Linked DNA regions of Homo sapiens: regions 1, 2, 3, 5, 6 and 7 are each linked to region 4. The links are contacts of gene promoters, found by promoter capture Hi-C in blood cells and fetal thymus (Javierre and others, 2016). All regions are on one chromosome and are shown on one strand. The core of a region is centred on a gene start or on the middle of the fragment in contact, and the rest is flanking DNA. Distances in the headings are between cores, read along the strand shown.

Region 1 (2,729 bases), core at 9-2,508, 1.9 Mb before region 4:
TTGAGACAATAAACTTGCAATCCCTCTTTTTCCCCAGTAGTTGTCTGAGGTATTGTAGCATAAATAACAAATGTGTGTAATTAAAAACCAAAATTAGCTGAGCAAAAATACTATCCCTGCCCAAATTTCAGTTTTAAATTCTTATTTACAAACACTGTTTCTTGTTTTTCCTGCCTTTGATGTGAACTTTAATTTTTAAGTGTAATCTAAACCACCTTTAAAACAAATCATTTATTCGTAAGGTTTACTATGTCATAATTGCCTGGTTATTTGGATGATAGATGTGTCATATCTGAAAACTAACTAGTTATCTTTTGAAATGTATTTCAACATGCATTATCTGAAGCAGCAAAGGTGAGAACACTGCGTGGATAAATATGATAAAAAATATGATGGATTTACAAGCACAGCACTCAGGTTTAGCATTTAGTCATTTTTATTATGTTGTTGGGTCAAAAGTGTAAAAGAAGACCAGCAGAGGAACTGTTAAGGCTCCTTGGAGTTTTTGCCTGCCCTCCTGCCTGGGGATGGAGGTAGTTCTAGCCTAGAAACTCTTGAATGCTTTACAAATAATAGAAGCCAAGTGGGAAAAGCATGTTCTATATTTTAATGCTGACATCCTCATAGAAAAAAAAAAGTAAAGATTCAGAATACTTGGCTGTGATTCAGTACCTAAACACTTCCTGGTGTTTCTCAGAATCCCCCGGAGACTCATAAATGCTGCTGTGTTGGAGGTACCCATTGCTGCTGCACACTTAGGCCAGTTTGTCAAACTAACGAGCTCAAGAGCGATGCTATTTCTAGGTTCAACCCCATGGGGGAGGAACAGAGAGAAAACAAAACCAAAATTCAGACAGAAGAGTAATCCTAAAGGCCAGTTGACAAAAAATTTATTAACACATATATACCAAATCTCACCCAGAGTAGTATCCTTTGTGGAGATTTTACCCTACAAATCTTTTGCTAGCTCCTTGAGTCCAAGCATTACAGATAAGGTGGTATGGTTTTTACACTGGGTGATGTTTATTGATCTGGACTTAAAAAACAGCACTGTCTGGCTTTTTTTCACTGACACAATATTTGCAAATAACTATGGAATGGAGAGGACGTGTTTTCCTCTTGTTAGGGCCTATTGTTTTTTAAGAAAATTAACAAAAGGGAGAGAGAAGCTTTAACACTCATTGAGAGGGACTTTTTATTCTGGGATTTGATAACTAAGATTCGGGGAAGATAGTGAGTTTTGGTGTAATTTGTGTCATCAAAACAACCCCTGTATTAGAGCAGGAGATACAGTATCAATAGATAATGAGAAAAGACAATGGAAATTATACAAATGTATGTTTCTTAAAAGCTTTTGCTACCTATTATTTTCTAGCCTATAGGCAAAATTTAGAGACATATAATGGATATGCTTATATTGATAGTAACATATCATGTAATTTAAAAGGCTAAGTCCACCTTACAGGTTTGCCTCATGCCATGATGAATCATTTTGAAATGTGATTGGTCTTCTAAGGGATTGTTCAAAGATTGTCAGTCAATCATTGACAAAATAACTCTGTGAGGTGACTTACTACAGTTTGGTTTTGATGTTTACAACATAACCAAATGTGAACTTTGGAGCTTGTAAAGTTGTTCTTTCAGCATTATAAATTTGGCAGCTTCCTCTTCCTGCCTCCCTTCTCCTCCTCCTTCTCTTTTTCTTCTTCTCCTTATCTTCCCTTCCTGCTTCAACAAATTCACAGAAATAGGAGGCCTGCTGTATTAATTTTATTGTTTGCTTACTTTCAAATCTTTTCTTTCAGGCATATTTCAATATATAATTGATATGAAGTGTGACAATTTTTAATTTGTCTTGACTTTTTAAATTTTATGATAGAAAATGGAAACCAACATATATAAATAATCTACTAATATTTCTTAACCTTTATATATATGCTCAAGAGAAGACTTTTTTCTTCCCCCTGGAATGAATTTTTTTTTTTTTAAAGAAAGTCAAGTATTATGTATACACAGCTTTTGAATTCTTGGATATATTTTTGAAACTTTAAAACATTATTATTTATATTAATCTTTGAAGTATTTCCTCTTGAGGAACTACCTATACTTCTTGCATAGTGACCTAGTTTCAATAGTAACATTTTATAGAAGCTGATGGTAAAATTTATGTCTTCGGACCATAATTAATTATGTTTTGAACTTAAACAGGAACATCTCCTTTCTTAACTAAACGGCCGTGTCTTACATTTACATGATTTGCTATTTGTACCTTAAAGAGGTGTAATAGTTTTATTATGTTCTTATGTCATCAGTAATTTCATATGTGAGTCATGAATCCCATAGATTTAGTGGTGCTCAAATACACTTATTGATTGATTGATTTGCTATACAATTGGCTCTCTGTATTTATGAGTTCTGTATCTAGGGATTCAACCAACTTTGGTTTGAAAATATTAGGGGAAAAAAGAAAATATACAACCATAAAAATACATATTTAAAAAATTCAGTGTAACAACTATTTACTTAGTATTTACATTATATTAGGTATTACAAGTGATCTAGAGATGATTTAGAATTACAGGAGGATGTGCATAGGTTATATACAAATACTATGCCATTTCATTTAAGTGACTTGAGCATTTGTGGATTTTTTGGGGCATTTCTTGAACCAATCCCCCATGAATACCCAGGGATGGCTGTATATGGTTGATACTTTGGGAAGATTTTAG
Region 2 (2,735 bases), core at 73-2,572, 1.9 Mb before region 4:
CTCTCTTTGTCCTTGTGAATTTATACCTCTTTAGTTCCTTTACTGTCATTTCAGTGGGGTTTGGAGAAGGAGAGAAGATGAACGGGTGAATTCAAGCCACCATTTTTAACCGGAAGTCCTTTAATATCCTTCCTATTCATTTTTAATGTGTCCATCCGTTCCCCGTCTCTCTTCACTGCTGTATCATACTGCTCGGACATCTTGATTGAGCTGTTCTTGATGACTTTCTTTGAGTCTTTTCCTGTTGAGTATTTCACAAGGTCAGAATTCACGAGTGCTAAGGTCAACCCCCAAATGTGCAATAACACTGGCTTTAGGAGAGCATCTTTTCCTGGTTAACTGCTACCTGTCATCCTCACTCCATTTCTTTCCTTTCTTGTGGGAGCTGACAGAAGTGGAAAATGGGGCAAGATAGGAGGAACTGTATTCTAGATTAAAAAAATTGCAAATGAAAGCCACATTATAGCTTTGTATTTTGTGGTTTTATTATATTTTGCAAGCCTTTCAATTTTTTTTACATAAAGCCTTTTGAAAAATCTCATAGTAAAATTTCCAACTGTGCAGAGGATCAGCATAATCCTCCCCAGTCTCTCTCTCCTTTAATCTTGTGCTTTTTCTCCTATGAATTTGGTGTGCATCTTTCCATATCTTTTAAATTATGCTTGCACTAGTGTACAATCATTTATTTATTCAACAAATGGCTTTTGAGTCCCTATAATGTGCTAGGCATTGATGTAGGGACTGGCAATATGTTGGTGAACAAGACAGGCTAAATCCCTTCCCTCATGGGGATTTACATTCTAGTGGATATATAAAACTTTAAACATTCAACACATGCACACTGCCTACCCACCAGCATCACTGGCCATATCATACACAGTGATCTGTAAGATACTTTTTTTCCCACTTACCACCTAGTGTATCTTTTCATGTTAGTACTATGGATCTTTATTTTTAATGGTTGTGCCATTTCACCATATGAATGCATCATTTATCTACTCTTCTAGTAATGATCATTTAGATTGTTTCCAGTGTTCTGCTGTTACAAACAATGGATCAAGCATGATTTGTTCAAATATTCTCCCATTGATAGACCTTGAAGTGTTTTCAGTTTTTTTTTATACAAACAACTTTGTAAAATCAATTTTGAACATTTAGTTTTGTACTCATATGCAAGAATATCTATAGTGTATATATTCCTATAAATAGAATATTGGAGTCAAATGGGCTGATGTTATACAGTATGAAAGCTATTGTCAAATCGTCCTCCAAAAAGTGTGAATTCATTTGTACTCCCACCAGATAGGAAGAAAAGTGCCTGGTTCTGAAAAAGGTGTTTTAGACATGTGCTGTGAACTTTTTCATTTTACCGTGTTGCATTTTCCACCATTTCCCTAGTTAATTTAAATTTGTCTGTTGCAAAACTGTGTGCTTCTAGACACTGCCTGATTTACGCCACCTGAGACTTGTTATCAGACTCCAATGGAAGTAACCAGTCTCTCAAAGAAATGTGAACATTAAAAGCTAATCATTTTTCCCTTTCCAGATCTTGAGTAAACAAGCAAAAAAAAAAAAAAAAAAAAGAAAATCTTGGTTACAGGCCTGTCTTTGTGGCAGTCATTTAACAAAACAAAAATATCTAAGAAAATCCCCAAACTAGGTGTGGTGGCTCACTCCTGTAGTCCCAGCACTTTGGAAGGTTGAGGTGAGAGGGTCGCTTGAGGCCAGGAGTTTGAGACCAGCCTGGGCAACATAGTGAGAGACCCCATTTCTAAAAAATAAAAGCAAAAACCCAGCCAGGCATGGTGGTGTGTGCCTGTAGTTCTAGCCACTCAGAAGGCTGAGGCAGGAGGATCCTTGAGCCCAGGAGTTTGAGTCTGCAGCAAGCTATGATTGTGCCAGCCTAGGTGAAAGAGCAAAGCCCTGTTCTCCAAAAAGAAAATTCCCTAACAAAATGTCTATAGTCTATATATTGCCTAAATCACTTTTAATCTGTAACAAAATATTATCCTTCAGTCTCTGTTTAGAAAAGCTCAGCAAATTCTGTAAATAAGATAGTCTCTGTTCAATATGTCAATAAGCCTTTTCTTTCTTTCTTTCCTTCCTTCCTTCCTTCCTTCCTTCCTTCCTTCTTTCTTTCTTTTTTTTTTTTTGAGACAGAGTCTCACTCTGTTGCCCAGGCTGGAGAGCAGTGGCATGATCTCGGCTCACTGCAACCTTCACCTCCTGGGTTCAAGCACTTCTCTGTGTCAGCCTTCTGAGCAGGTGGGATTACAGGCGCCCACCACCACGCCTGGCTAATTTTTGTATTTTTAGTAGAGACAGGGTTTCACCATCTTGGCCAGGGTAGTCTTGAACTCCTGACCTCGTGATCTACCCACCTCGGCTTCCTAAAGTGCTGGGATTACAGGCGTGAGCCGCTGCGCCTGGCCCAGTAAGCCTTTTCAAAGAATTCTGTGCAGGTTACAGCATAATTTAATTACAAATGAATATGCATTCTTAGATATAAAAATGAGAGATGTCTGAGTATGATAACTAAGATAGACAGTGTTAGAACATCATGATTTGAAGGATCGTCACTCACTGTTACTTCCAGAAGTTATGTCCAATCAGCTACCTTCGTTTTGGATAAGATAGTTCCTGTAGAATTACTCACATTGGATCTTTCTTCCTTTAATCTATTTCTCTGTAAGCACATGCAAATTATGCTTGACTTAACCAAGCAGCTCTACTTC
Region 3 (2,700 bases), core at 153-2,652, 1.9 Mb before region 4:
TAGTTAATTCTCTCTGGCAGTTTCCAAATCTTTTTGTCTCATAGTCCTGTGGCTTCTCTGAGACTTTGGTTCGGTTTGGGAGAAAACGTTCCTTGGAATGCCAGTAAGAGAACTGCAGGTGAGTAAACTGAACTGAAGTAATGCAGAATAATAGTTCAAGATCGATTCCTGCCACAGACCTTGAGTAAAGGGCTATGGAAGGTTTTTCTAAGAGGGGTTATTTTACCTGGTACTGAAGCATTAGTCTGTCTCTGAGGCAAAGTAAAGAAAAAGGATGTTCTTCATGGAAGAAATAGGGCACCTAAAAGAAAGTGTCTGCAGGTACCCAGTGGCTGCAGCTTTAGCAGGCATGGTTGGGAGGGTCTGTAATGGAGAAGGGCTTGGCCTTTGTCCAGCATCCAAGGGGAGCCTTTGGAAGGTTTTAGACGGAGAAGTGGTATGTTCTAGAAAGGTGTAGCATGGTGGCGTATGCCTGTAATCCCAGCTACTTGGGAAGCTGAGGCACGAGAATCACTTGAACCCAGGAGGCGGAGGTTGCAGTGAGCGAGATTGTGCCACTCCACTCCAGCCTGGACGACAGAGCGAGACCCTGTCTCAAAATACAAAAACAACCTTCTCAAAAACAAAAACAAACCTACACCTGGGGGAAAAACTAACAAAAGATGTGTAAGATATCCACAGAGAAAAATTACAATGCATTAGTGAAGGAAATAAAATAAGCTCTTTAAAAATATAGAGCTCTGCCTAATTCCAACACTTGTGTTATAAGTTGGTCTGATTTTCCTGTCTACTTTTTCTCACGATTACTTTTCTGCTAGATATGGGAAGGAGAAGAAAGAGTTAAATAACACGCATTTAAATGTCCTCATCCCCCTCCCCTCCAAGCCAGTCACTGGAGAAGTTGAATAAAGAAAAACAAAACCAAACCATTTGGGCTAAAGAAATAATTGGGAGAAAAGAAAGTTGCCAAAAAGCATTGTATATGTGCACATTTATTTGTAATAAGTGAATGGACGAATGATTTAATAGTACATATGGTGGTCTTAGTATATGCATGGAAAAACTGGAGGAATATACGGCAAATTGTTAATATTGGTGTTTGGTGTGTTTTCAAGTATTATATCTGCAATATTTACTATTTTTTAAAAACAGTGAGCGTGTATTACTTTGGAATCAGAAAAATCCCAATAAATATATACACCTGTAAAGATGTCACACTTAACATAACATCCAAAGTCCTTATCAGGGCTTACAGGGCCCTGCACGACCCAGCCCCTCTCTCTGCCTAACCTTGTTTCCTTCATGCTCCCTCTTGTTCATGGTGGTCTCTTTGCTCCTCCTTGATCACACCAAGCACGTTTCCAGTTCACAATGTGTGCATTTGACGTTCTCTCTGCCAGGTGCACTGTTCCCAGGTATCTGCATGGGTCCCTTCTCCACATCAATTAGGTTTGCTCAAATGTCATAATTTCAGAAAGAACTTCTGAAAATTCCCATCTCCTGAACTTACTTTATGTTTCTCTATAGCACTTACCCACTACATTATATCATGTCTACTTATTGTCTGCCTATCTATCTATCTATCTATCTATCTATCTATCTATCTATCTGTCTATCATCTGTCTATCCATTGATGTCACCCCTGGAAGACTTTGCCTAGAATAGTCTCTGACATACAATGGAAACTCAGTAAATATGTGTTGAATATATATTATTTGCTTTTAAACAGCGAATACCTGTTTTTACTTTTATTTAGTGAAGATTGAGTTGTAGAAAATGTTTGAAAACCTGCAGCCCCAACTTATAGAGCTTAAAGGCTTTCAGTTACTTTTTAAAAAACACCTTTCCTCATCTAGGACAGAGTTTTTCCACCTCAGAACTATGGACACTTTGGGATGGAGAATTCTTTGGTTTGAAAGCTGTTCTGGGCATGGTAGGGTGTTTAACAACCAATTCAATGCTGGTAACATCCTCTCCCACCCACCTCATTAGTTATGACAATCAAAAATATCTTCAGACATTGCCTAATGTCCACTGGGAGCCCAAATCCCCTTCTCTTCCCCATTGAGAACCACTGCTATAGGAGCGTTCTAGAGTCAAATACCTCTCCATTTTTCTAAAAATATGTACAGCATCATATTGACGGAGACAGGCTAAGGTTTGATCTACTGCTATGCTATTAGGAGGGAATGAGCTGAAAATTGTCATGGGTTCTTATACTTTCATGAGAGTTACTCAGGTCTCAGCACCTCTCTACATTTTGGTTTTCTTGTTTAGTATAAATGCAATCCAATTTAATCTGCATATAAACACATCTATTGCATATTAAAATCAACATATTATAAACATCAGGCTGAATGCTTTCCTGAAGAAGCAGGCTAAAAAAATTCATGCATATTAATATTACAAATAAGCCAATTATTATATGGAATAATAAATAAAAAACAATATGATTAAAACTGGGAGCTTCATAAAGCAAAATATATGATATGAAGATTAGACTGCCTTAGAAACAATATTACAAATCCTTGCATTTTACATGTAATTTGTTTAAAATTAATTTCCCAGTGTGGTATCTTATTTTTGTTTCACCTAGACCTACACTAATAAGTTTTAGGAAACATTGATATTACTTAAAATCACAACACAGAGAAGAAACCATTTCTCTGCTCTTAATTGAGGCAAACCACACTGCTTAGC
Region 4 (2,700 bases), core at 43-2,542:
CAGGTGCTGGGTGCACAGCACGGCTTTTCCGTGGACCGACTCTAATCTGTACAAGAGCTCAGGGTTGCGATGGCACGGGAGAGGGGCTTTGGTATCCGCCCTACGTAAGAAGCTTCCAACCCCAGGGAACTCTAACTCCGCCTCTTCACAATTTCCAGGCGCCGTCAGGCTCATCAGGTCTGGCCGCATGCCCAGGTCCCTCGGATTGGACTCACAGGATCAGCAGCCCGTAGCCTTCTTTGCGGTAGTCGCGATAGGCCTTCCACGGTTTGATCTCCAGCCGCTGCGGGTACGCGCTCTCGGTGCGGTACAGCGCTTCCAGCAGGCATGGCGAGCCCAGGTGCACCGACTCAAAGGAACCCAACTTCATGCGGAAAATCTTGCCATACTTCTTGTGGTACTCCACCTGCAGCCGGCCGGGCACAGCGCGGTGTCAGCGCGCATCCTCCGCCGTGCCCGAAGCGCTTTCCCTCCTCCCGCCTCCTTCCTCCTAGGGGACCGGGGACCCTCCCTGCCCAGACGCCGAAGCGCACCATGCGCCCGAGGCGCGCATGTCGGGGAGGGTTTGGAGCGCCACTGGGAGGGCGGAAGAGGGAGGAGAGAGTCAGGGGCGCGAAAAGGGGTTTACCAGGGTGTCGTGCTGTTTCTTGAGACCCCCTTTCCAGAGAATCTGCAGCAGGCTGCCCAGCAGTGGCCAGCTGGTGGGGCCCGGCAGGGCGGCCGCGTTCTGAGTCTCGCCACCAGCTGTCAGCGGGCAGACTGGCACCTCTCGCGGCTGAGGGGACGTGTACGCCGTAGATGTCACCAGTCTCGGGGGCTGCCTCGGACTGCGCAGCTGCTGCAGGAAGGCGGCAAGCGAGCGGCTCTTGCTGATGGGGGAGCTCATGGCAGCGGGGGACACCGGAGCGCGGGAAGGCAGGAGGATGGGGTGGGGCGAGGTTGGTACGAGGTGCTAGTGGGAGTCGGGGCTTAACGATTCTGGGAAAAGGAAGCAAAGAGGGCCAGCTGGTGTGATGGAGCGGGGTGAGGCGGGACAGGCAGCAGAAAGGACCTCGGCGAGGATGCTCGACGCTGCACCACGCGACAGCCTCAGAGCATTGGTGCCTCCTTGCACTGGCCGCAGGGGCTGGAAGAGGGTGGCCGGTGTCTGGGGACCTCTTGAAAAGGGAAAGCTGGGAGTCCTCCTGTTGGTCCGCAAGGCTGACCTCTAGGGTCTGGCTGGAGCCACGGGGAGGTGTCAAGGAGGGTAGATGAGATGCTGCTGGCGCTGCGTTTCCTCCTGTCCCTCTCCATGTTCCTATGCCCAGGGACCATGCATTTATGGAGACAGAGCATGCCCTGGGTGGCCAATGAGCACGCAGAGGAGGGCGGAGTGGCCCCCGGCTGGCCAGACTCCGAGGGACGCGGGACCCAGGGGAGGGGGGGTGGAAGGAGGATGGAGTCAGCGAGGTGAGCGAGGGCGTCCGGGCCTGGGGTGACCGGGGCTATGTTCGCTGGGCGCGGGAGGTGGGGTGGGGGCGGCAGACTCCACCCCGGAGATAACCCCCAGGAAGTCATGCGAAGCCCGGAGTTCACCGGGTGTGCTTCGAACGCGCCTCCCCGCCCTCCCCCGGCGGGCAGGAGCCGGCAGCGGCGGCCGTGGTTGCCGCCCGGCGCTTGCACAATCGCGATGCCGGGCGGGCGAGGTCCCCGAGTGCGGGCCCAGAAAAGCTGCCGGCGTCTGCCAGGGCCCCGGGGAGCCCGGGCGCCTCCCGGGGAGCCAGATACCCCCAGCCTGGACTGAAGTGATTTTTTTTTTTTTTTTGCCTTTTTTTTTTTGGAGGAAGTTTGGCTTTCTGCGCCTCCCAGGGTGGGGAGGATTTGAGTCTTACTGAAATGCACCAGAAGAGGAGACTTTCTTAACTTGAGCAAGAAGGGGAGTTTGTAGAATTTCCTTCCTGCTGTTTCATGTTTGGTTGTTTTGCAGATTAAATGAATTAATGCACGTAAAGCGGCAACAACGAAGCCTTGTCTATAGTCAACAGTCAATAAAAGTTAGTTGCTGTTGTTACTTCTTTAGGAAGTTAGGAAATGCGCCTTGAGAGCGTGGCTTGCACCAACGATGCTTGAATTCAGGCTGGGCCACCTCCCCTATGTCCACTGCCCGCCTCTGTTCTTCTACACCGACTACCTTGTGCAAAGGAGGGGCACACAGAGCTTGAAACCACCGCCCCCAGTACTCCCCCTCTCCCCCAAGGTGCGTCCTAGGCAGGTCCAGTGACAAACATACACAATTTCTAGAGTTACCGCGGCTGGCAAGAGTAGAACTCGCTTTGCTAATTCAGGAACGGAAGTTGGAGATTTTTGTTGATTGTTTTAAAGTGGCTCGAATCCTTTCAACCTGATCCAATACAAAACTACCACCAGCCAGGGAGGAGGGGAGGGACATTCTGTTTCCTCGCCCTGCTTTTCAATTACGTGTCTCAGTCATTTTTGCCCCAAGTGTTGGCAAATCCTTCCCTGGTAAATTCTTTTGTAAGCCTCTAGTTTGTTTCTTAAAAATCTTTTGCAGTCCAACTTAAGCTTTAACACCATCATTTCTGATTTGTCTGGAGGGGCTAATGACTGTTTATGTTAATAAAAATAATAGCTATTGATATATACTAAACTTTATGAATCTTGTACATATTTATATATACATTGTATGGTATATATGTTACA
Region 5 (2,700 bases), core at 72-2,571, 2.0 Mb before region 4:
GGCGCACCTTTAATCCCAGCTACTCAGGAGGCTGAGGTGAGTGGATCGCTTGAGCCTGGGAGGAGGAGGTGGCAGTGAGCCGAGATTACACCGTTGCACTCCAGCCTGGACAACTGAGTGAAACTTGGTCTCAAAAAAAAAAAAAAAAAAAAAAAAAGAAATTCGAAGGTATTACCCTGTTGTCCTTGAGTTTCTCATGTTGCTGGTGATATAACTCTGATGCTATTCTGATTGTTACATCTCTCAATGGAAACTTCATTATTTTCACCAGCTTATAGCTACTTTCCTTGCTCCTTAGTAATCTAAAACTTGATGATAGTATTTATTGGTTGGATCTATTTCCACATATTGCATGTGATACTCACGCCTACCATCTAATAAATCCTGTTCTCTGCGGGTTCTGGGACAATTTATTAACATTTTTTCTGCCCTTCTGGTTTTTTTGTTCTCTGTCTGGAACTCCTGGTGTTTGGAATAGGAACTCTTGCACTAGTCCTGTCATTTTTAAATTTATCTTTTCTCCCCGTTTTGCATGTCTTGGTCTTTCTGCTCAACTTTCTGGAATATTTCCTTAACTTTATTTTTCAAGCTTTCTATTAAATTTTTCATTTCTGCTGTCATATTTTTAATTTCTCAGAACCTTTTCTACCATTTGAATGAAAACAAATTGGCATCTTATTCTTATTTCGTGAGTGTGGTATTTTCTCTTACCTCTCTGAGGATGTTAATGTTTTGAGGGAGGAACCTTTTTCCTTCTCCCAGTTTTGGTTTCACCCATGTGGCCTGTCTTTTTTCTGTTTGGTTGTTTTGGCCTTTGGCTCTCAGGTTTGCTCGAAGGTCTTGTGCTCCTTGGCTGTCTGATCTTATTTATTTAGTTATTATTTTTTGAGATGTAGTCTCACTGTTGCCCAGGCTGGAGTGCAGTGGTGCCATCTCAGCTCACTGCAACGTCTGCCTCCCGGGTTTCAGGGAGGTTCCTGCCTCAGCCTCCCGAGTAGATGGAATTACAGGCACCCACCATGCCTGACTAATGTTTGCATTTTTAGTAGAGACGGGTTTCACTGTGTTGGCCAGGCTGGTCTCGAACTCCTGACCTCAGGTGGTCTGCCCACCTCGGCCTCCCAGAGTGCTAGGAGTCTGATCTTATTTTAGAAGGAGGTGCTGAAGAGCTGATTGATAATTCTGAGAACGCAGGGTAGGGGTGGGTGGCTTGTCAAGCTTAAGTATCAGTGCAGGGTGACCTGGCTGGGGTGTGTCCTACCTGCTCCAAAATATCAGTGTATTTCGTTTTCCTTTTTCTGCACTGGGTGCATTTCTCAGAGCAGACCGGATCACTCTCCTGCCTAGAGGATACAATCCCTCCTGCCAGTGCTTTTGGGACATGCTAGGGAAGGAAGGTTGCAGAGGTCTCAGCAATCCGTATATAAGCTTCCCCCCGTACCCCCTGCTTAGTCCCTGTACCTGAAGCTCCCTGTCCAGAGACTCTCTCTTTTATCCTCTCAAAAGAATAAAGTGCAGTCATCTGAACAGGACAGAGGCTGTCAGATGCCCGTGGCATGGGAGAGGAAACCTGGGATCTAACTCTTTCTTTGATTTTCAAACACTCTTTCTATTTTTTGCCCCACTTATGCCTCCAACCTGCAGAGATATCTGGTGCTACTCATTCCTGAATGTTTCAAGGCCCTGCAGGACACTTGGGTTCTTTCTCTTTTTCTTTTTTTTTTTTTGTTTTTCTTTTGCCTTTTTCCCACTGACAGCTTGGGATTCAGTTTTCCTGAGTCTGCTAATCCAGTTATCACTTGTTCATCTACTTTCCAGTGTTAAAAGCTAGTTTTTTAAAAAAAGGTAAAATTGTAACTCTCAGGAAAAAAAATGAACACACATGAAAGATTTTATTGAACTCATGAATGAGGAAGCTGGTGAGGTGTTAGAACCAGCTCAAAGGAGAACGCAAAGAGCAGATCAGAAATTTGAAATTCACTGATCAGAAATTTGAAATGAATTTGCAAACAGAGGAGTATCAGTTTCCTACTGCTGCTGTTACAAATTGCTTCAAATTTAGTGGCTTAAAATACTAAGTGGCTGTGAACCCCAAATATCTGAGACAAGTCTCAGTCAAATTAGAAAGTTTATTTTTTGAAGGTTAAGGACACACCTGTGACACAGCTTCAGGAGGTCCTGACGTCATGCACCCAAGGGGGTTGGGGTACAGCTTGCTTTTGTACATTTTAGCGAGATGTGAAACATCAATCAATATGTGAAAGATTACATTGGTTCTGTCTGGTAAGGTGGGTCAGCTAGAGGTGGGGGCTTCCAGGTCATAAGTAGAAAAGAGACAAAAGGTTGCATTCTTTTGAGTCCTTGATCAGCCTTCCACTAAATACACAATTTAGTCTGGCTCATTAAATCTGCATTTTTACACAAACATAAGGCAGAAGAAGCAATCATATATGCATTTGTCTCTGGTGAGCCTGAGAGGGATGACTGAGTTCTGTCTGTCCTTTGTCCACAAGGAATTTCCTTGTGGGCAAATTGTGAGGGAGGTATATAGCTTTTTATCTTTGTAACTATCCTATTTAGGAATAAAATGGGAGGCAGGTTTGCCTGACATAATTCCCAGCTTGACTTTTCCCTTGTCTTAGTGATTTTGGAGTCCCAAGATTTATTTTCCATTGCTTCTCAGCCTTTTGGCTAAGATCG
Region 6 (2,700 bases), core at 195-2,694, 1.9 Mb before region 4:
TTCTCTGTTTCTCATGGGGATTGTCTGATCACAAAATATCCTTTATTAAATTCCATTTCCACTCAAAGTAGCCAGAGGTGGTTTCTGTTGCTTACAACTCTGATTCTTGACTTTAGGATGGGTGCATGAGCAGAGTGGTGAGAGAAGAGGCTGGGAGAGGCACTTTTGATGTAAGTTGACACTGAACAAATGCCTCTATGGGCATTGGCTATGGTAACAAAATTTAATATCCTCAGGCAATTCATAGAAAAATAAGTATATGAAAAATTATGCAGCCTCAGTAAAAATGAAATTGCAAACAAAATCAGGTATTAATTTTATTTCAGAGAGGTGGAAAACATGAAAAAGAAAATTCTCAGTGCTGGTAAGGATGTGGGAAAGCAGACACTCGAGGTTCCACCAATGCAAACTTTCTGCAATAAGTGCCACAGATACTTCTTGTCCATGTGCTTCGATCCAGCAATTTCACTTGTAGGAATTAACCTAGGGAAATAATTGGATAAGTACATTAAGATGTATGTGCCAAGATTCTCATTGCACTGTTGTTTATTTCAGTGAAAAACTGAAAGCACTCAACTGCCTATCAATAGGGGATTGACCAAATAAATTCTTATACCATGCAGGATGTATGTATTAATGCACAATGTAGTTAGGTATTGATATGTTTTGGCTGTCCCCACCCAAATCCCATCTTGAATTGTAGCTCCCATAATTCCCATGAGTTGTGGAAGGGACCTGGTGGGAGATAATTGAATCATGGAGGTGGTTCCCCCATACTGTTCCTGTGGTAGTGGATAAGTCTCACGAGATCTGATGGTTTTATAAGAAGTTTCCCCTTTCACATGGCTCTCATTCTCTCTTGTCTGTCACCATGGAAGATGTGCCTTTTGCCTTCTGCCATGATTGTAAGGGCTTCCCAGCCATGTGTAACAGTGAGTCTATTAAACCTCTTTTTCTTTATAAATTGCCCAGTCTTGGGTATGTCTTTATCAGTAGCATGAAGGCAGACTAATACACGTATTTAGCCCGGCCAATAGGTAAGCTAATCTTTATCACTGTGGAAATGTGTCCACAAAATATTGTCATATGAAAGTCTGTTAATAATGGATGTGTGTACATTGGGGCTTGAGTGGGGCCTAATAAAGTAATATTCTTCTTTCTTGTTTAAGTTTTGAATCAATTGAGAGAGAACCGCAAAAGTCAGAGAGATGGTGATAAAAACATCATCTTCATTACGGATAAAAGTTTTATCGGAGGATGTAGCTTACGAGAGTATCCACATGGGTTCATTATAGCCCACCCAGGCAAAAGTTACGCTTGTGGAAGATTGTTGCCTCAAAGATTGCTTGGTTCTGGGGCAGAGAAGAAAGGGAGCAAATTGCAAATAGCCTTTTAGTGTGTTAGCTTACCTAGTTGAGATATGTGGACAAATGGCTATCACCCATTGATATGGTTTGACTCTATGTCCCCACCCAAATCTCATGTCAAATTGTAATCCCCACGTGTCAGGGGAGGGGCCTGGTGGGAGGTGATTGGATCATGGGGGCTGATTTTCCCTTTGCTGGTCTCATGATAGTAACTGTGTTCTCATGAAATCTGATGGTTTAAAAATGTGTGGCACTTCCCCCTTCAGTCTCTCTCTCCTGCTCCAAAATGCTAAGATGTGCTTGCTTCCCCTTCGCCTTCTGCCATGATTGTAAGTTTCCTGAGGCTTCCTTGCCATGCTTCCTGTTAGGGATGTAGAACTGGGAGTCAAACCTCTTTTCTTCATTAATTACCCACTTTCAGTTAGTTCTTTATAGCAGTGTAAAAATGGACTAATACACCTATCAATCAATTAACTCACTCTTTTGTGGGGTGAGGACAGGAGTCTTACCATGATCGTGGTCCCTCCATAGGGAAACATGAGGACTAGAGAATAAGTGTTCCTGCCCTTAGCATTATCATGTGATTCCATTTTTGTTTGAAGACACGTATGGATGTTTGCATAAAAAGATATAAAAATAAGCCTGAGATGGATGTGTGAGAAGTAGGCTTCCCCCATGGGCTGGGACTATGAGAGGGATTTTCAATATCTCTTTAAAAGTCAAATGACTTTTAAAAATAAAGGATAATATCTCTCATGAGAAAAAAACCCAGAAATATGTTTCCATTAGAAAACTAAGTTTCTGTTCATGTTGCATGCAATTCATACTCTATGTAAATGACATTTCATTATGCAGCTGGTATTTTTTACAACCAGCTGAACACTGAAAATCAATAGATACAGGTTCCATGATGAAAATAATTACTGGGATTCTTTTTCATGCTTTCTTTGATGTCCTTTCAATGTCTGGATATAAATCAAGTTCCTCCTATGCCTTCACTCAGATTCCCTTTACAAATTCTCTTTATTTTAATTTAATTTAATTTTATTATTATTTTTTTGAGATGGAGTCTTGCTCTGTCACCCAGGCTGGAGTGCAGTGGCACCATCTCGGCTCACTGCAAGCTCCGCCTTCCAGGTTCATGCCATTCTCCTGCCTCAGCCTCTTGAGTAGCTGGGACTACAGGCACCCGCCACTGCGCCCAGCTAATTTTTTGTATTTTTAGTAGAGACAGGGTTTCACCATGTTAGCCAGGATGGTCTCGATCTCCTGACCTTGTGATCCGCCCGCCTTGGCCTCCCAAAGTGCTGGGATTACAGGCGTGAGCCACCAC
Region 7 (2,700 bases), core at 128-2,627, 1.9 Mb before region 4:
TTTGTTCTTTTAATTTTGTCATCTGCCCTTGTTCTTTTGTTCTTTGTTTTCAGTATTCTGACTTATTGCATCTCTATGATTATCTTTATGTCAGAGGCATTTAAACCAGAGCGTCTTCATTTTGAATCGGGGCTGGGTAAAATAATACTGAGCCCTACTGGGCTGCATTCCCTGAAGGTTAGACATTCTAAGTCACAGGATAAGATAGGAGGTTGGCACAAGATACAGGTCATAAAGACCTTGCTGATAAAACAGTTTACAGCAAAGAAGCTGGCCAAAACCCACCAAAACCAAGATGGCGATGAGAATGACCTCTGGTCCTCGTCACTGCTACACTCCCACCAGCGCCACGATAGTTTACAAATGCCATGCCAACATCAGGAAGTTACCCTGTATGGTCTAAAAAGGGGAGGCATGAATAATCCACCCCTTGTTTAGCATATCATCAAGAAATAACCATAAAACTGGGCAACCAGCAGCCCTCAGGGCTGCTTTGCCAATGGCATAGCCATATCTTTATTCCTTGACTTTCTTAATAAACTTGCTTTCACTTTACTGTATGGATTCACCTTGAATTCTTTCTTGCATGAGATCCAAGAACCCTCTCTTGGGGTCTGGATAGGGACCCCTTTCCAGTAACATTTATGCCTTGGACAATTTTGAGGTACATATGAAATATCTGGATAGAAAGTGCAAGTTTTCTGCTAATATAACCCTTCTTTCTTAGTAATTGGACCCACAAAGGTTATCCAGGCACATGAGAATAACATGACAAACCCCAGCATTTTTTGTGTGTCTGGGTGTGACTATGTGCCTAATTTCTGGCCAGAGTGGTTTAAGTGGAAGTGTTCTTTGCAACTGTTTGGGGGCCTCTTTGTGTAGAGAGGCCACTTGCTACTCCCTGGCTGGAATGTGGTTGGGTGGTTGGCTGTAGAACGCCTCACTGGGACCTGATGTGGAGGCCACATGTTGGCCTTGGTAGACTTGATAACTAGAGACACAGTGAGTAACACGGGCTTCTCAGAACATGCTGGGAGATAAACACCAACAGCACCCAAGACCAGAAAATGCCACCAGATGCTACTAGAGAGCAAAGTATAGTGACAGGCCAGACTCTGCTTTCTAACATGATTATTTTCCAAAATGTCTTGGTCCTTGGACGCTTACCAAAAAAGAAGGAAGGAGTTTGTGACTGTGTGTATGTGTGTGTGTGCAGAATCCTAAATTGGTTGTGTGTTTAACTCAGAATGATGGCACTTACCTGGAAGTGACTAAATTTTCTGCCATTAGGTAGATGGAGGGCTTGACATAAAAACAGTTTAAGTGGAGTTACAGAAGAATTTTAAAAGATTTTATTTCTTGCACACTCAAGTTTGTCTTCTGTGACAATCATAGCCACGATGGGAGTCTGGGCTTAAGAAGGCAGCTGGGAATTGGGGCTGAGGTTTAAGCACGGCAGGAACACTGTCAGATTTGTGCTTCCTTCCGAAGTCTGTTTTTCAGGGAGGTTGTGGCCACGTGATGGTCACGGTTGCTTTCATCCTCTCCTGGAGACTCTCAGCTGTCCTACATATGTCACTGCATTTTTGCAGAGTCAGATGGTCTTTTCTGAATTATTTTCTATTGTCATCATTTGTGATCTCTGCTATAGCCCTGTCTTTATATATTTGCTTCAAAATAGGCCCCCAGTCCATTTTTGGAGAGAGTACTTAGATTTGTTCAGTCAAATTTCAGAACTGCAAGTGGCTCAGTCAGTCCAATGACAAAGAACGCCCCCCCGCCACCCACTGCCAAAATGGAACATGAGTTTTGCTTCAGAAATGAATACATAAAATATGTTACCTTTTCATCCATCTTCTCTCAATTTTATTTGTTGCTAAAGTGATATTATACAGATATTGAAAGACTTTTTAAAATAAGAAAAAAAAACCCATAACAATGATCTCATTTAAAATTTTTGGTTGAAAGTGACAAAAACTGAATTGGAACAAGCTCAGATGGAGAAAAAACACACGAGCTTGAGTCACAGAAAAATCCAGGAACAGAATTACTTTTAGATATCACTTCATCTGAGACTCAAACAATGCTCAAGTAGAATAATCATTTCTTCATTTCTTAGATCTGTTTCCCAATGTGTGGGCATCATTCTTCAGCAGGACCAATGCCTGGGGGTGCAAAATGGCCATGAGAAACTTTTAGCCTCCTATGCTTTGATTTCAGTAAACTCAGCAGCCTGAGGTTCTCTCTCTCTTAATATTAAAATCAAAGCAAAACAAGGAAGTGAGTTTCATATTGGTCTGCTTGTGCTCATGCTCCTGTCTGAACAGATTACCATGGCCAAGACAGTGGAATGACCAGGGTGGTGGGGGCAGGGGGCGGTCAGGTCTCGGGTATGTGCCCTACTTTGGATCTAAGGGTGGGTTAATTTCTTGGACTCAGTGAGTTAAAGATGATGGACAAGTAGTTCTCTACTCCCTCCTACCCAATCAGGGTGGCATTCCCAGAAGAATAAATCAATAGACAAAAATAGCAGAGAGCCACCCAACTGATAATCCCAATCCCCAAAGAGATGAGAGCTTCCATTCTTCTGTTCCCATTCGTCCATGTTCATAAAGATCACACCCGTATATGCTTATAATTATAATATAGAATAGATCAGAGAACAGCAAACTACAGCCCAGGAGCCAAATTTGGCCCATC

What was found. The method cuts DNA at HindIII sites, captures the fragments that hold promoters and counts their contacts. A CHiCAGO score of 5 or more calls a contact.
Region 1: a contact is called between a fragment that was not itself captured here and the fragment with the promoter of CYP24A1 in region 4, in 6 of 17 cell types (activated CD4 T cells, non-activated CD4 T cells, naive CD4 T cells and 3 more). The highest score is 9.2, in activated CD4 T cells.
Region 2: a contact is called between a fragment that was not itself captured here and the fragment with the promoter of CYP24A1 in region 4, in 4 of 17 cell types (total CD4 T cells, total B cells, naive CD8 T cells and 1 more). The highest score is 8.9, in total CD4 T cells.
Region 3: a contact is called between a fragment that was not itself captured here and the fragment with the promoter of CYP24A1 in region 4, in 1 of 17 cell types (total B cells). The highest score is 7.4, in total B cells.
Region 5: a fragment that was not itself captured here is called in contact with the fragment with the promoter of CYP24A1 in region 4 in 5 of 17 cell types (total CD4 T cells, activated CD4 T cells, naive CD4 T cells and 2 more); the score reaches 8.3 in total CD4 T cells.
Region 6: a contact is called between a fragment that was not itself captured here and the fragment with the promoter of CYP24A1 in region 4, in 2 of 17 cell types (naive B cells and naive CD8 T cells). The highest score is 6.7, in naive B cells.
Region 7: a contact is called between a fragment that was not itself captured here and the fragment with the promoter of CYP24A1 in region 4, in 2 of 17 cell types (naive B cells and total B cells). The highest score is 6.6, in naive B cells.

The regions. Positions count from the first base shown.
Region 1 is chr20:52,229,906-52,232,634 of GRCh38, forward strand. The region is part of intron 1 of LOC105372666 (a long non-coding RNA gene); the gene reads left to right. Among named protein-coding and RNA genes, the nearest start is that of ZFP64, 39 kb to the left of the region's middle. The HindIII fragment of the contact is 182 bases long and covers 1,168-1,349 here.
Region 2 is chr20:52,265,655-52,268,389 of GRCh38, forward strand. The region is part of intron 2 of LOC105372666 (a long non-coding RNA gene); the gene reads left to right. Among named protein-coding and RNA genes, the nearest start is that of ZFP64, 75 kb to the left of the region's middle. The HindIII fragment of the contact is 6,103 bases long and covers 1-2,735 here.
Region 3 is chr20:52,285,053-52,287,752 of GRCh38, forward strand. All of the region lies in intron 2 of LOC105372666 (a long non-coding RNA gene), which reads left to right. Among named protein-coding and RNA genes, the nearest start is that of ZFP64, 95 kb to the left of the region's middle. The HindIII fragment of the contact is 3,656 bases long and covers 1-2,700 here.
Region 4 is chr20:54,172,694-54,175,393 of GRCh38, forward strand. It overlaps CYP24A1 (cytochrome P450 family 24 subfamily A member 1), which reads right to left and starts at 1,293. Exons shown (of 12, transcript NM_000782.5): 1 at 629-1,293; 2 at 216-406. The coding sequence starts at 886. RefSeq lists an enhancer at 923-1,516. The HindIII fragment of the contact is 2,450 bases long and covers 111-2,560 here.
Region 5 is chr20:52,210,966-52,213,665 of GRCh38, forward strand. All of the region lies in intron 1 of LOC105372666 (a long non-coding RNA gene), which reads left to right. Among named protein-coding and RNA genes, the nearest start is that of ZFP64, 21 kb to the left of the region's middle. The HindIII fragment of the contact is 210 bases long and covers 1,217-1,426 here.
Region 6 is chr20:52,247,920-52,250,619 of GRCh38, forward strand. All of the region lies in intron 2 of LOC105372666 (a long non-coding RNA gene), which reads left to right. Among named protein-coding and RNA genes, the nearest start is that of ZFP64, 57 kb to the left of the region's middle. The HindIII fragment of the contact is 3,826 bases long and covers 1-2,700 here.
Region 7 is chr20:52,301,972-52,304,671 of GRCh38, forward strand. All of the region lies in intron 2 of LOC105372666 (a long non-coding RNA gene), which reads left to right. Among named protein-coding and RNA genes, the nearest start is that of ZFP64, 110 kb to the left of the region's middle. The HindIII fragment of the contact is 3,487 bases long and covers 1-2,700 here.